Linked DNA regions of Homo sapiens: regions 2, 3 and 4 are each linked to region 1. The links are contacts of gene promoters, found by promoter capture Hi-C in blood cells and fetal thymus (Javierre and others, 2016). All regions are on one chromosome and are shown on one strand. The core of a region is centred on a gene start or on the middle of the fragment in contact, and the rest is flanking DNA. Distances in the headings are between cores, read along the strand shown.

Region 1 (3,544 bases), core at 509-3,008:
TAGCAGAGTATCATGCCCACTTTTAGATTTCATTGATCCAAAATTAGGTACCCCTGGGAACAGACAAGATTCACCAAGACATCACTCATATTACATCTTTATATTAACTATTTCTTATGATTTCTTTGCCTAAGATGATAAAGCATGCAAATTAGAACCACAAGGGAAATACTCACGTTTGAGGGGTATAGAGGCCTTGTTTATTTACATCCTGGGATCTTAACTCCTGCATGGAGAGGCGGCCAGCACCACCGCTGGAAACTGAACTGCGCTTCATGCTTATGACCTACATTCACGAATTCAGTATTTAAAAAAAACTTTCCAGACAGAGATGGTACATTAAGCAACTATTTATCCTTAAACAGAAAGACAGTCAGGTTTCATTGTTTCTTCAAGATCATCATCTTTCCCCTGGGGTATCTCTTTTTTGTTCATGTACACTGAAGTTCTCATTTGCAAGGAACATCTATTTAATTCCATTTAAAAATATTCAACATAAACATTTATTAACTGCCCACTATATATATAGGGGAGTGTGCTAGGCAATGCAGGAGATGCAAAGACGAGTAAGTTACGGTTTTTGCCTTCACAAGGGTATCCGTGGTAGCTAAAGCCCTGTCTGTTACCCAGACCACATTACTGCTGTTGGCTGTGCCTATTTCAATAGGAAGACAAAAAAATTACCTCAAATTCTCTTATTCACCTCAAAATGTTTCCTTTTCTTTGGTTTCAGAGAATGGAATTATTCTGTTTTCCTAATGTCAATCTCTCCTGCTCTGTCCTTAACCCATTGTTTCCTCAATTACTGCCCTTTTGGCATCAATCTCCCCTTCAACAAGGATAAATCATCCGGTCCATAAAATGGTCTATAGGCTGCCTCCATTTACAAACCACATTAACAGGTCACTCCCTTCACATCTGCTAAAAAATTTGTCTCCTAGGATACACATGATTGACAAAACTTTTGATCCTGTCTCATCTCTGCACCCAGCCTTCTCAGGTCCTGCCCTGGCTTTCAGGAAGGTGACAATCCTTTTACTTCTCTGGGTACTCCTTAGTCTTTTACACTGATTAGACTCTTCTTGATTTTGGCCGCCTATTTCCTCTTCAATATGCGCTTGTTCATCTATTCAACTTTTCCACTCACACCTGTGTGTCCACGTTTAATCTCCACTTAGAATGTAGCTCTCATGATTTAAGATGAAGACTTCTACACGCAGTCCTACACGGCCATAAGAAGCTACACTAGTATTCAGACGCAACCCACCCAACGAGTCCTCTCTTGTCCATCTCTTTCCGCCCCCTTCAATTCTTCCCCGTTTCCTCTCCCGAGCCTCCACTCCTCATCAGTGTCCCCCAGGCCCTCCCCTTTCCTCCTTGGGAAATCGTTGCCACTAGAAATTTAATAGATCCCGTGAAACCAGCGCCTCGCACAGTTTTGGCCTCGAGGCTTCTCCCAACAGCAAACAAACACCAAAACATCGCCTCAGGACCTCTAAATTTAAGTCATTGGCGCCATCACTTTCTTCCTCCAGAACAGCTCTGCAGAAACAAAGTTAATCCGATGTCATTCAGTCACCTTTTTTCCAGTTTCCTGACACGACCCAGGGACCGAATTTCTGTAAACCGTGCAAGTATCTGCTAGACAGGACAGCGGTCATCAAAACACCAGGTCCTTCCTCGGCCCGCCAAAGCCGTTCGAATTTGAAATTCTCCGCCGGCGCTGACGTCATTACGCACGACGCGCGCAGTAACTTCCATGCGACCGCCTCGTCGCTGGAAGGCTGCGTGCTGGTCGCGCCCAGCTGCGTCACCCCAGGAACTGGGGTCTGTGGGCCAGTGTGGCCGTCTCTACGAAGACTGGCACGACCCCTAAAGTTAGGTCGGAAGACCTGTGGGCAGCTTGAGCGCCGAGGAGTGCCCTGAACGCTCAACTCGCCCTGGAAACGTTTTTCCGTACAGCAACATGGCGGCGCCCATGGACTCTTAGAAAAGGAGAAAGCTTTTTCTCTGTGGACTGGAAGGGGCATTTTTCATGATCACTATTTAGATGGGTGCTGTTTTCATGAGGAGAGTCTGGGAAGGCGGCGTCCGCTTTTCTGACAAGGGAAGAGGTGAGGTGGGAGAGGGGCTGCGGAGTGGGTGGAATGGGCTCCCAGGATTGCGTTGGTACGGCTGCCGAAATTCGGGCTCAGTATTTGATCACTTGCCGGAGGCTCACGGTCCTCTGGTGGTGGCTGACCTGTGAGAGGCTAGGAAGAATCCAAGTGTTTGGGGGCGGGCGGCGAGGGAGTGGATGTGAAGCAGAGACGCAGGAGAGGGGTGCACTAACAACAGTAACAGTAGATCACTTTGCTAAAATAGGATTTCCTCGCTGCTGTGAGTTTGAATCCAGAAACAGGCACTGCCCGGTACCTGGAGAGTGGTGGTGATGAAAGATCTCACAGCTCCAGGAAGTCTGGATACTTGGGTCTGGTAGCAATTGTGCCATTAACTAGCGTTGTTATTTTTGGGCAGCTTGCCTTTCTGCTCTGAGTTTCAATTTTCCCGTCTGAATTTCTAGCTCTCACTAGCCATTCCAGGACCCTTTTCACCTCAGCTGTGGCCTATGAAGGGGATGGGGAGGAACCAAGGATTATATTAATATAAAAATTATATGAAAATTAGGCAACCGTCTGATAATAAAAAGTCTCCTTGTGGAATACTGTTAGGTTAAACTTTACCTACAGATTGTTAAATCCTTAGCACTAATGTTTTCCCCAGAAAAGATTAATGGAAACATCATTTGCTTTTCTGACTAGATAGTTGCTGCTTCCAAAGGTGGTTTTACACAAATACAAAATTAAAAACACCTTTAGTACAGAAATAATTGCTTGTATTTCGGTATACATTCACAGTACAGTTCAGCATTTAGTGGTCCTGCTAGCAATTTGCCAGGAAGTCAAGCCTGCCAATTTCCTGATATTCCTGCTGTGCACCCCAACTTCTTAATCCCTGCTGAGGATCTTGAGAAGCAGCAGCACCAAAACCAAAGTAGGCACCAAATTCAAGGTTCTTTTGGTTCCGGTTGTCACATTTCAAGCTAGACTCCAATAGATGGAAGGATGATCACATGTGAGCCCTGTTTAAAACTTCAATTTTTAAGAGCAAGCACAATTGCAGGAAAAGAAAACAATTCAGAGGGATCATGTGTGCTTACAGTTGTCTTCATGTGGCCTTTTCCCAGGTTTAACCACCAAGGACCCTGACAGCCGGGGTGTCTGAATAACCCTGGTGACTCTTTTCACCATATCAAAACCTGAGTTAAAAGGCTGATGATAACAGCAGAAGGTGGCAGGGCTGAGGACCCACTATTAATTTCCTAGGCTGGTGGAGAGTGAATAAATGTTCTTCCAACCTTACCTTATGGCTTCTGGTCAAAGCAAAGAAGTGTCGTGGAAAGTGTTGGGTGGTGACAGTGCAAAAAGAGACTTGACGGGGAGGGAGCAGCATCTCTTGATAAAGGTGGGGAAGAGAAGATATGGGGAAAGCCCTGAATTCCTCA
Region 2 (3,544 bases), core at 674-3,173, 2.7 Mb before region 1:
TAAAGCGAGTACACGGTATCATGTCTGATGAGTGTGAACTTTCGTGGCAGAAGACTTGGTTCTGGTTCTGTCCAGGCCACTGGAACCCACTATCTGTGGGTGCAGGTGATTTTCCATCATGGAGCTAATACCTTAGCTGGGCATTATTTCACTTAATCCTTACAAGTGCCTTATTAGGTGCTTTCCATAGCTCTCCTTCAGCTGAGGTTTAGAGAAGTTAAACAATTTACCCAATATGTGAACTGGATATGTCTGACTCTACAACCGGTCTCTTCCATCCTATTTCCTCCATATAAGCCGTAACTTGGGTGCTTTTGTGAACATCAAAAAAGATGCGTATAAAGTCGCCTTGGGGAACGTTAAACCAAAGTCAATTAACATTACAAAATCAACTGAGGCCATATAGAACTTCCTTTAGAAAATTAACACATCCAATCATCATATTATTTCCCAAATGTTTACTTAGGTGCCTGTTGCAAGCACTATCTTATGTCATCTTCAATAAGCCCAAGAGGAAGCTTCTGCTCTAATCTTTAGATATTAAATTACGCGTTTCGGGGAAACTTCGCGTGTGAGGTAAAGCAACATGAGCGACTCTAAGGCGGCGCGGCATTGCTGTCCGGCCTCCTGCATCTCGGTGAGCAGAAAACGCGGGAGCGGGAGGGACTTCCCAGCTCCCGACGCCAGACACAGGCACAGCCGCCGCGTCAGAGGGAAGGCGACGTGGTTCAACAGCAACGGAGCCATTACTGGCGCTGAGCAGGGATGTTAAGGACAGAGCCAAGTTATCAGAGCTCTCCGAATCGAGTCCAGGGTCTGGACTGCCACAGACGGGTCGCCGCCTCCAGCCCCTGGACTTTTCCTTGGAGTGTCCGGGCGCGGACCTACTAGCTCCGAAGCCCTATGGGTGATCCCTTTCTGCTGGGCAACTGGGGTTGCGCTTTACACTACAAATCGAAGACGTCGCTTTTTCCATTTGTTCTGCAAGTGTTTATTGTGCACCGTCCACTCCCCCACAAACTCAATGTGCCGGCGGCAAGAGGCAAGACCGCAGACCCGTGGGCGCGCCTCCCGGTGTCGGCCGGTGTGCGCGGAGGGCGAAAGTGGCCGGGGCGCCCGCTCCGAGACGCGGCAGAGCCCCGCAGCCTCAGCGCCCGGCCTGCGCGCGCCCGGGGGAGGCTCTGGCCCACGCACATGCACACGCACGGGAGCGCTGGCTCCCGCGTCCCCGGCGCTGCGCCGGCGCCGGGCGCGGGCGGAAGCCCACGAACCAGGGCGGGAGGGAGCTTGAGGCGGGGCGGGTGTCCGCGAGCAGCGCTCGTGCTTAAGTTCCCTGGCTCCCGAAGCCCCGCCCTTGCCCCGCCCACTCCTTCTCCCGCGCGCGGGCTCCGCGCGCCCCAAGCCGCGCGCGTGCGCGCGCGTGCGCAGGCCAGGGCCCTCCGGGGGCGGCCCCGTAGTCTCCAACGAAAGCGTCGGCAAGGGCCCGGATTAACCCTTTCTTTGCTCGCCCACTTAGAGACCCGGTCGGGTTCCGTGCCTGCGCAAGCCGGCGGCGCGCCTTCCCCCCAGCCCGCACCGCGCATGCACGGGAAGGGGGGGGCGGTGGGGGTGTTCACGGCCGGCTAGACATTCTGTGCTCGTGCAGGAGGAGGGCTGCTACCATCAGGGACGTGCACGATTTCCCCCACCCCGCCCCCTCCCCAAACTCCAAAAAAAAATCCAAAACACACTGCCACCCACCGTGCCCCCGCGCCCCGAGCCCCTCCGGTCCCGGCCTGCGTTTGCTAGCGAGCGCGGGGAACCCACGGCAGTGTCTGTGCCTGTGCCAGGCTGCAGGTAAGCGCGGGCCAGGGTGCGGAAGGGGCTGGGGCCGTCCGCAAGGCGGGCGCGGGGGCGGCCGGCGGCTGGCGGGGCGGCCCGGAAGACGCGCGTTCTCGCCGAGCTCTGGGGCACCAGCCAGCTCCAGGATGTGCGGCGGCCGCCAGCGGCGCGGCGCGGTGCGAGCGGGGACGGGCGTGGGCCAGGGTTGGGCGTGGGGCCGGGGCGCCCCGGGGGCCGCGCGGGCCGGCGAGCGGGCTCGGGGAGCGGCCAGGCGGCGGCGGCCCCGCGCGCGCGCTCGCAGAGCCTCGGCGGCCGAGTTCATGGCCGCCCCCGCTCGCACCGCCGCAGTGCACCGCGGTGGGGGTGGGGACGGCCCGAACCCAGCGCGGAGCGCGGCCCGCCGGGCGCCGCCCCTCCGAGCCGCGGGCCCCGCCGCGCCGCCTACAGCCGCCGGCGGAGGAGGGGGCCGGGACCCAGCGCACGCACTCCCGGGTGCGCCCGCGGAGCTTGGGTTAGCCGGCCGCGCGCCGCCCCCGCCCCCGGCCGCGGGAGGGCGGGGGAGGGCCCGGCGCGAGCTGGCCGGGGAGTGCGCGGGGCGCGAGCTCCGGGCTCGCGGGCGGAGCGGGGCGCGGCGCGGCGCGGGGCTGCGGAGCCGGCCGCACGCCCGCTCCCGCTCGTCGCGCCGCCGGGGCCGCCGCGGGCCGCAGTCCCTCCCTGCGCGCTCCGAGCCGCGGTCCCAAGCCTGCGCTCGACGTCTGATTATGAAAGGGAAAGTGGCCCTTTCACCACCTGGCTCCCAGGCTGGGAGCTTTTGTCTGGGAAGGAGTGCAAACGGCCTCCTCCACTCCCCACCTCCCAGGCCCAAAGAAATTGAGAGGGAGGACTCGATACGCCTTGAGGGCTTCTTGGGTCTGCGCTTGGCTCCCTGCTTCCTCCCGACTCCGAAGTTGCAAGCTTGCAACAAGGAAGTCGTGCAGCCGCCATTGTCGGGCTGCCCGGGGCAGGGGAGGCGGCTGCAGCTGCTTATGTAAGTTTTTGGCTTTGCGGGAAGCCCGGCTCCCTGCACTGTAACGCGGCTTAGCGCGCCCGCAGTTTGGAGAGCAATTAGGAAGGGGCAGCCTTATTATGAAGGTGGTGTTGGGGCTACGTCTTTTCCTACACCTGCCTACACAGATGCTGGCAACAGCTGTCTTCCAGTTTTGACTCACCTGAACTGAGCAATTGGACATCTCAATGGCAAGGGGGGCGGGGCGGGGAGGAGGCGGCTTTGGACACACATGGTCTCTCTTCCAGGTCTCATACATCTTGAGAGAGAGAGGGGAGAGGGGCGAGTGGCCAAGTACACACTAGCCAAAACAACAACAACACATTGATATGTTGTCATAGCTAGTCTAAGGCCACTCCTCTCTCTGGTCCCATGCACTTTTATCCCACAAGCCCTAGGACGAGTTAGTGACAACAGTAGTAAGTGTCACAGTGTAAGGTTTTTGCTGGGCTGCCTAGCCTCTGGATGATTACAGGCCTGGGTGCTTCTAGGGAATAGAGAGGCAGAAACACGTAGAATGATCAAGTCAGAATCATCTTTTGGAAATGTTGCCTAACCTCAAACTTCAGATGAGACATCCCGCTTCTACGCTGGGTAGCTCGGTGTGTTCACTTTTCTTTAGAAGGAGCTTATTATGGGTTTCAAGGTGTTGGTCTCCAGGTTGGAGTCTTGTTCCAT
Region 3 (3,544 bases), core at 662-3,161, 2.4 Mb after region 1:
CACAGCACCCTCTAACTCCTTGGCTCAAGTGATCCTCCCAACTCAGCTTCCCGAGTAGCTGGGATTAAAAGCATACATCATGGCCCCTGGCTTTAATTTTTAACTGCACTTATCCTTAACCATTTAATAATCTAGATATGTAATTTTCTTTTTTTCTTTTCTTGAGACCCAGTTTCGCTTTTTTCACCCAGACTGAAGTGCAATGGCGCGATCTTGGCTCACTACAACCTCCGCTTCACAGGTTCAAGCGATTCTCCTGCCTCAGCCTCCCCAGTAGCTGGGATTACCGGCACCTGCCACCACTCTCGACTGATTTTTTGTATTTTTAGTAGAGACAGGGTTTCAACATGTTGGCCAGGCGGTCTCGAACTCCTGACCTCAAGTGATCCGCCCGCCTCGAGCCTCCCAAAGAGCTGGGATTACAGGCGTGAGCCACCGCGCTCAGACTAGATACTTAATTTTCTACTAAATCTTATGAAATAGTACTTAAAATGTTCTCTTCATTTTAATATAGAGCTTTTTGCTGACCCTCAAAATACAGATTCTCAATATGGAGAGGTCAAAGGAAGGGACCTTAGAAATCTACTTGAGTTCCTTCATTTGGGGGATGAGGAAAAGATCTGATTAAATATTTAAGATAAAGCTCAAATTTTAAAAAAGAAACTCTGGTCAGCGCTGGCATTTTGAGGAAACAGAGGGGTTTTGTTTTATGTGTGTGAATCTACTGGTGTGTTTAAGTATTAGAATATTTCAAGAGCCATTCTACTGTTGTTATGGCTTTAGAAAGGGGTTGGGCAATCATTAAGAATTCGATTCAAGATTCTAGACCATCAAGAATCCACCTTGAGATCAAACAATACTCTTGATTCGTATCATGCTTTGTAAATGCTGAATCTTCAATAAAGGAACTGTAACAGAATAAACAGGGATGGTCAACGAATCACACACCTACAGCCAATTGGAGACACCACACATATTTTAGGTGCCATTTTGAATAAGGCTAGGGAGCAGCAAGGTCCATTCCCTAAGTAAAAGTGATCCCTGGCCAGTACCCTGGACTGTCAGCAAGCAAACAATACAAGCCCCTGTCAAACGCCAATCAAGAAATGACACCCCGGGGATATGTGTATTCATCTACTTCTGAAAGCTCACACCACGTTTCGGATACAGAAATCCAATGCAACGTTTGATGAAACGAAAACGAAGCAAAAAGGTTTACAATCTGCCTCGGGACAAAACTAAAACTGGTACCAAAGGGGCGGTCGAACAAAGGCAAGGGGCAAGAGAAGGGCGAAGGACGACGAAGGGCGGCGAACGCCGCTTGGCAACCCCAAGAAGGGTCGCTCCATCCCTCCCCTTCTTCCCCGCTCCCTTCCACGGCGACCACTGAGAAGCCCAAAGGAATCTCCCTGCACCTCCAGCCTGGCCCAGCGCCCCAGGACACACCCTCACTTTCACCGCACACCAGGGCAGCGTCAGAAACTATTCTGCAGAGTCACGACTTTGAGAGGCTTCCCCATCTCCACTCCCCCCACCCATCGGTGGCTCAGGGGGACGGCGCTCCCCTGCCACGCAGGGCTCCGACCCAGCCGGGAGAGGGGACGGTGCCTGGGTCATCTCCGCGCCGCCGGCCCCGCGCACCCCACCCCGGCCCCTCCCAGTCCATGCCGGGTGCCCGCCCGTGCAGGCCAGGCCTACGCGGAGGCCTAGCGCCGGTCCGGTGTGCTGCGCGCGAGGCCAGGACAGGGCTCACCGGAGTAGAGCGGCATGGCGGGGCGCGGCGGGAGGCGGCGGCGCAGGAGAGCTGGGCCTGACGAGGGCGGCAAAGGGACGGGGACCAGGAGCAGCTGCGGCGGCGGCCGAGGCGGAGGCGCGGTGGTGGCGGCGGCTTCGGTGCGACGAGTCTCATTCAAACCGGCCACTGGCGATGACGCAGCAACACGCAAAACACCCGTGCAGCTCCGGAGCGACTGCAGCGAGGAGACTGGGCGGCAGGACCGGGGCGGGGCCTAGAGGTGGCGAGAGGAGGGAGGAGGGGGAAGGCGGTGGAGGGGTGGCGGGAAGGAAGGAGGGAGCAAGTGAGGGACGGGCGCGGGGCCCCATCCACCGCAGCAGGTGCGCGCCTGCGCACTGCCGCCCATCGCCCTGCGCGCACTGGCCACGTGGTCCTGGCGCGGCCCAGCCCTGCGGCAGATGAAGTGGGAACTTGGTATCCCACCTGCTGTCTGAGGCTGAGGCGGGAGAATCGCTTGAGCCCAGGAGGTCGAGGCTGCAGTGAGCTGTGATCGTGCCACCGCACTCCAGCCTGGGCGACAGAGCGAGACCCTGCCTCAAAATAAAATAAATAAAATTAGTGGTTGTAAAGTCAGAGGTGTTTTGAAACCCAGCTGTTACTAGCTAGCTGTATGATGTCTGCAAACCTCAGTTTTCTTTTCACCCACACCTCATTTTATTGCGTTCTATATATATATATTTATATATTTTTATATATTTATATATTTTTATATATTTATATATATTTATATATTTATATATATTTATATATATATATATATAAATTGAAGGTTTGTGGCAACCCTGGGTTAGTAAGTCCATCAGTTCTGTTTTTCTAACAGCATGTGCTCACTTCGTGTCTCTGTGTCACATTTTGGTAATTCTCACAATATTTTGAACTTTTTAAATACTATTATATCTGTTCCAGTGATCTATGATTACTATTTTAGTTGTTTTGGGGTGCCACTAACCACCCCCGTGTAAAACAGCTAACTCCAATGTTTTGTGTATTCTGACTGCTCTGGCAACAAGTCTTTTCCCACAAGGGTTCAAGGCTTGAGTTCAGGACACAACTGCAGGTGTGGTGGCAATAGCAAGAGAACTAGAATTAGAAGTGGAGCCCACAGATGTGACTGAATTGCTGCAATCTCAAGACAAAGCTTTAATGGGCAAGGAGTCGCTTCTTATGGATAAGCAAAGAAAGTGGTTTCTTGAGATGGAAACTACTCCTGGTGAAGACGCTGTGAACACTGTTGAATGACAACAAAGGATTTAGAATATCATAAACTATGGAACTGTTGATAAAACAGCAGCAGAATTTGACAGGATTGACTCTAATTTTGAAAGAAATTCAAATTTGAAAGTTCTTCTGTGGGTAAAATGCTGAACAGCACTGCATGTCACAGGGAAAACTTTCATGAAAGGAAGAGTCAATCGACGTGGCAGATTTCATTATTGTCTTATTTTAAGAAATTGCCACAGCTACCCCAAACTTTAGCATCCACCGCTCTGATCAGTCAGCAGCCATCAACATTAAGGCAAGCCCTCTGCCAGCAAAAAGATGATGATTCACTGATAGCTCAGATGATCCTTAGCATTTTTTAGCAGTAAAGTTTTGTTTGTTTGTTTTGAGACAGGGTCTCACTCTGTCACCCAGGCTGGAGTGCAGTGACGCAATTACGGCTCACTGCAGCCTCAACCTCCCAGCTCAAGCTATCCTCTCACCTCAGCCTCCTGAGTAACTGGGACCACACACGGCTAATTTTTTTTG
Region 4 (3,544 bases), core at 385-2,884, 2.3 Mb after region 1:
CCAATTTAAGGTTGTGGGTGGCCAGAGCCTGTCACAGCAGCTCAGAGCGCAGGGCGGGAACCAACCCTGTACAGGACGCCATCTGCTCACAGTGTGTATACCCACCCACCCACACTCACTTATCCTGGAACCATTTAGACATGCCAGTTATTTTCATGTACACCTCTTTGGGATGCAGGAGGGAATCTGACTACCTAGAGAAAACCCACACAGACATAGGGAGAATGTGCAAACTCTACATAGACCGTGGCCCCAGCCAGGAATCGATTTTTTTTTTCTCATCAACGTTACAATAAAACAATGTTGAAGGAAACATCGTTATTTGAAGACTTTCCATAATTTCTTCCTAGTGCTGGCTTAGAAGCAATGAGCAAGAGAAAAGAGAAGGCATTAAGGAAAATTTTCCTTCACTGGCACTCTTCCAGGTGTCTGAGGTGATGAGAGTCATTAGTTATAATTGAAAGAATTTCCATTACTGTCTAGAAAATCAAGATGGGATTCCTGTATCTGCCCAGGGAGATGTATTTCTGGCATCCCAGAATTCAAATTCAAACACATCTCCAGAAGAAACATTAGAGGTAGTGTGGCTCCAAGCTTAACTCCAATACTTCCTAGTCATGTGACCTGGGGCCAATTACTTAACCTTCTACAACACAGTTTCCACATCTTTAAAATGTAGTAATGCCACCTACTCTCTACAGTTAAGAGGATTAAATAAGACGATGATCAGAAATAGTCTATTAAGGCACTAATTGTTTATATGTAGTGGTAAGTGTAAAGCACTTAGAATATTGTCTATTCAGTGTCTAGTAGCTATTATTTGTTATCGTTATTATTTTTTTTTAGAGACCTATTTATTCATTATACATGAATAAAGTAGGCTTTAAGGTCTGGCCTGAGCAACATAAGGGCTCTGGGGCAAGTTAGTAGGCTACAAGATGATGAGTCACCTGAAGTGTAAACAGCCCAAAAGACACTGGCCAGTGCAGTTTTGTCTGCTTAGATTTTGCCTAAGACTGTATAGACAATTCATCCCTATTGGTTATGTTTGTAAATCACTTAAATAAGACTCAACACTCAGCTGCCTCTGTCACAGTCACTAATGTTGAATAGAGGGAGAAAATACGTGAGGAATTACTTTGTGACAGCTGTTATCACCAGATGGTCTTAGGCACTGTAATTTACAAAGCAGAACTCATTACCCATCTACCTACAATATGAAGTCCATTTCAGATTTGGCTCAAATACACCAGTAAACATTTTTGTTAAGAAATTTCAATGTATAACATCCTGTAAAATAGCTGAACATTTAAAAAAATATATCAAGTTTTCCAGAGTTTTTTTGGTTAAAATAGTTACAAGACATTCTATTTTACATAGTAACTGGGTCTCTGATTTGTTATTATTTGCAAATACAATAATTGGTTACATTTGCTTTGTGTGGGTAAACAGAAAATTCAAAAGTTTCTGTGGAGTGTTGAAGGTGGAAGGCAAATTGCAAGTGGGTTGAAGAATGAACAGGAAGGTAATGAAGTGGTGACATGGAGTATAGACAACTCTTTGAAGAATTTTATTCAGCTGTGAAGGAAAAGAGCAAGGGACAGCATCTAGGAGAGGGGACTTTAAATTTTTAAAAATATATTAATGCCTCAACTGTAAAAACTGCCTAACAGTAAGATATTAACACTACTTCAAAATTTATTCTGTAAGACACCTCAAATACCCACCAAGCCAATTAAAGATAAAAGGGAAGAGATCAAAAGTCTTTTACAGGTAGGAGATGGTAATTAGCAACATGGAATAATATTGTGATTGGTATTAAGTGTTAAATTAGATGTGAAGTTCTTAGCAATTGAGACAAAAAGGGACATATAATGGTTGCATGAGTCTCATTCTCTGTTAGAGGTAGCCCCATTTTTAAGAGACAAACTTTCCTGGTACATTTCAAGAGGTATTTATTATATTCAATCTTACATGTTGTAACTGAGTAACATTTTGTTACTCAGTGTGTGTGTGCACATGCACTTCAGAAACATTCTTTATCAAATGTATGGAACTATACAAATATTGGTTCTTGTTCTTTCATGAATGTAAATAATTTATATAGTGCTATTTCTTTTCTCTATTTACTTTAACGTTTTAGGGAATGTTCTTTTTGCGGCTTTTTTTTTTTTCTTTTTTGAGACGGAGTCTCGCTCTGTCACCCAGGCTGGAGTGCAGTGCTGTGATCTCGGCTCACTGCAAGCTCTGCCTCCTGGGCTCAAGCGATTCTCCTGCCTCAGCCTCCTGAGTAGCTGGGACTACAAGCACGCACCACAATGCCTGGGTAATTTTTGTACTTTTAGTAGAGATGGGGTTTCAGTATGTTGGTCAGGCTGGTCTTGAACTGACCTCGTGATCCGCCCGCCTCAGCCTCCCAAAGTGTTGGGATTACAGGTGTGAGCCACCGTGCCCAGCCTGTGGCTTTTTTTAAAAACCCAATTCATAGAAAACCCAGAGGTATAATCTTACTGTTGTAAATCAGTGAAGCTGCTTTAATTATAGAGAGAAGTTAATGTGTACATCATTGTTTTCCTACTTTCAGAGTTGTTACTAGGGAAAAGTTTAGGAAGAGCGAAAGTAAACATGCCCATTAGAGTCTTTCAGATACTACTAATTCATGATGAAAGCTTTGGCAAGAACTAGATTTAGATTTTTGTTAGTTAAAAGTCAGTATTCTTCACTGTTGATTTTCACGTGCTTCAGATACTAGCCGTTTATCAGATATTAGCTGTTTTAAAAATTAAAAGAATAGGCCGGGTGCAGTGGTACACGCCTGTAATCCCAGCACTTTGGGAGGCTGAGGTGGGCAGATCATGAAGTCAGGAACTCGAGACCATCCTGGATAACACGGTGAAATGCTGTCTCTACTAAAAATACAAAAAATTAGCCGGGCATGGTGGCGGGTGCCTGTAGTCCCAGCTACTCAGGAGGCTGAGGCAGGAGAATCGCTTGAACCCGGGAGGCGGAGCTTGCAGTGAGCTGAGATCGCACCACTGCCCTCCAGTCTGGGCAACAGAGTGAGACTCCTTTAAAAAAAAAAATTTAAATTAAAAGAATATGTATTGACACTGTAGATTTGTGACATATCAAGATTAGAAGTTGAATTAGTAGTGCCATAATAAAGTTACTAGATAAAGGGCTTATTTTTGTGATGCTAACTTGATATGTACCATATATGTTTTTCTCATACTGGTGCTTCTTAGGATATAATATTTTTAGTTAGGATATGATACCTGTGACTTTTAACATAGATTCAGATTAACATTGGTTTAAACAACATAAAAGTTGATTTTTCCCCCTCATATCGAAGTCTAGAAGCAGGCAGTCCAAGGCTGGTAAGGGAGCACTGCTCGGTGAGATTGCCTAGACCCAGGCTTCTTCTACCTTCTTCTTCCATCATCTTGGTGTTTGCCCTTTTTCCTGTAGTGCAAGGTGGCTCACGCTCACATCTGCATTCTAGCCAGCAGGAAGAGGAAAAGGCCAGTGATAAAATATGGCCCAA

Evidence for each region. The method cuts DNA at HindIII sites, captures the fragments that hold promoters and counts their contacts. A CHiCAGO score of 5 or more calls a contact.
Region 2: a contact is called between the fragment with the promoter of ZBTB14 here and the fragment with the promoter of METTL4 in region 1, in 2 of 17 cell types (fetal thymus and total B cells). The highest score is 10.7, in fetal thymus.
Region 3: a contact is called between the fragment with the promoter of USP14 here and the fragment with the promoter of METTL4 in region 1, in 1 of 17 cell types (erythroblasts). The highest score is 6.0, in erythroblasts.
Region 4: a fragment that was not itself captured here is called in contact with the fragment with the promoter of METTL4 in region 1 in 1 of 17 cell types (M0 macrophages); the score reaches 6.3 in M0 macrophages.

Annotation. Positions count from the first base shown.
Region 1 is chr18:2,569,719-2,573,262 of GRCh38, reverse strand. It overlaps METTL4 (methyltransferase 4, N6-adenosine), which reads left to right and starts at 1,758. Exons shown (of 9, transcript NM_022840.5): 1 at 1,758-2,114. It overlaps NDC80 (NDC80 kinetochore complex component), which reads right to left and starts at 1,706. Exons shown (of 17, transcript NM_006101.3): 1 at 1,580-1,706; 2 at 177-286. The coding sequence starts at 277. RefSeq lists enhancers at 1,701-1,860, 1,743-2,665. The HindIII fragment of the contact is 2,186 bases long and covers 1-2,004 here.
Region 2 is chr18:5,294,105-5,297,648 of GRCh38, reverse strand. ZBTB14 (zinc finger and BTB domain containing 14) reads left to right here and starts at 1,923. Exons shown (of 4, transcript NM_001243702.2): 1 at 1,923-1,997. RefSeq lists enhancers at 715-874, 592-1,277, 1,966-2,652, 2,653-3,340 and silencers at 1,085-1,504, 1,585-2,524. The HindIII fragment of the contact is 2,257 bases long and covers 521-2,777 here.
Region 3 is chr18:156,924-160,467 of GRCh38, reverse strand. USP14 (ubiquitin specific peptidase 14) reads right to left here and starts at 1,911. Exons shown (of 16, transcript NM_005151.4): 1 at 1,754-1,911. The coding sequence starts at 1,769. It overlaps LOC105371951 (a long non-coding RNA gene), which reads right to left. Exons shown (of 4, transcript XR_935081.2): 4 at 2,299-2,325. RefSeq lists silencers at 1,520-1,699, 1,970-2,239. The HindIII fragment of the contact is 8,571 bases long and covers 1-2,935 here.
Region 4 is chr18:248,299-251,842 of GRCh38, reverse strand. All of the region lies in intron 9 of THOC1 (THO complex subunit 1), which reads left to right. Among named protein-coding and RNA genes, the nearest start is that of THOC1, 18 kb to the left of the region's middle. The HindIII fragment of the contact is 2,075 bases long and covers 597-2,671 here.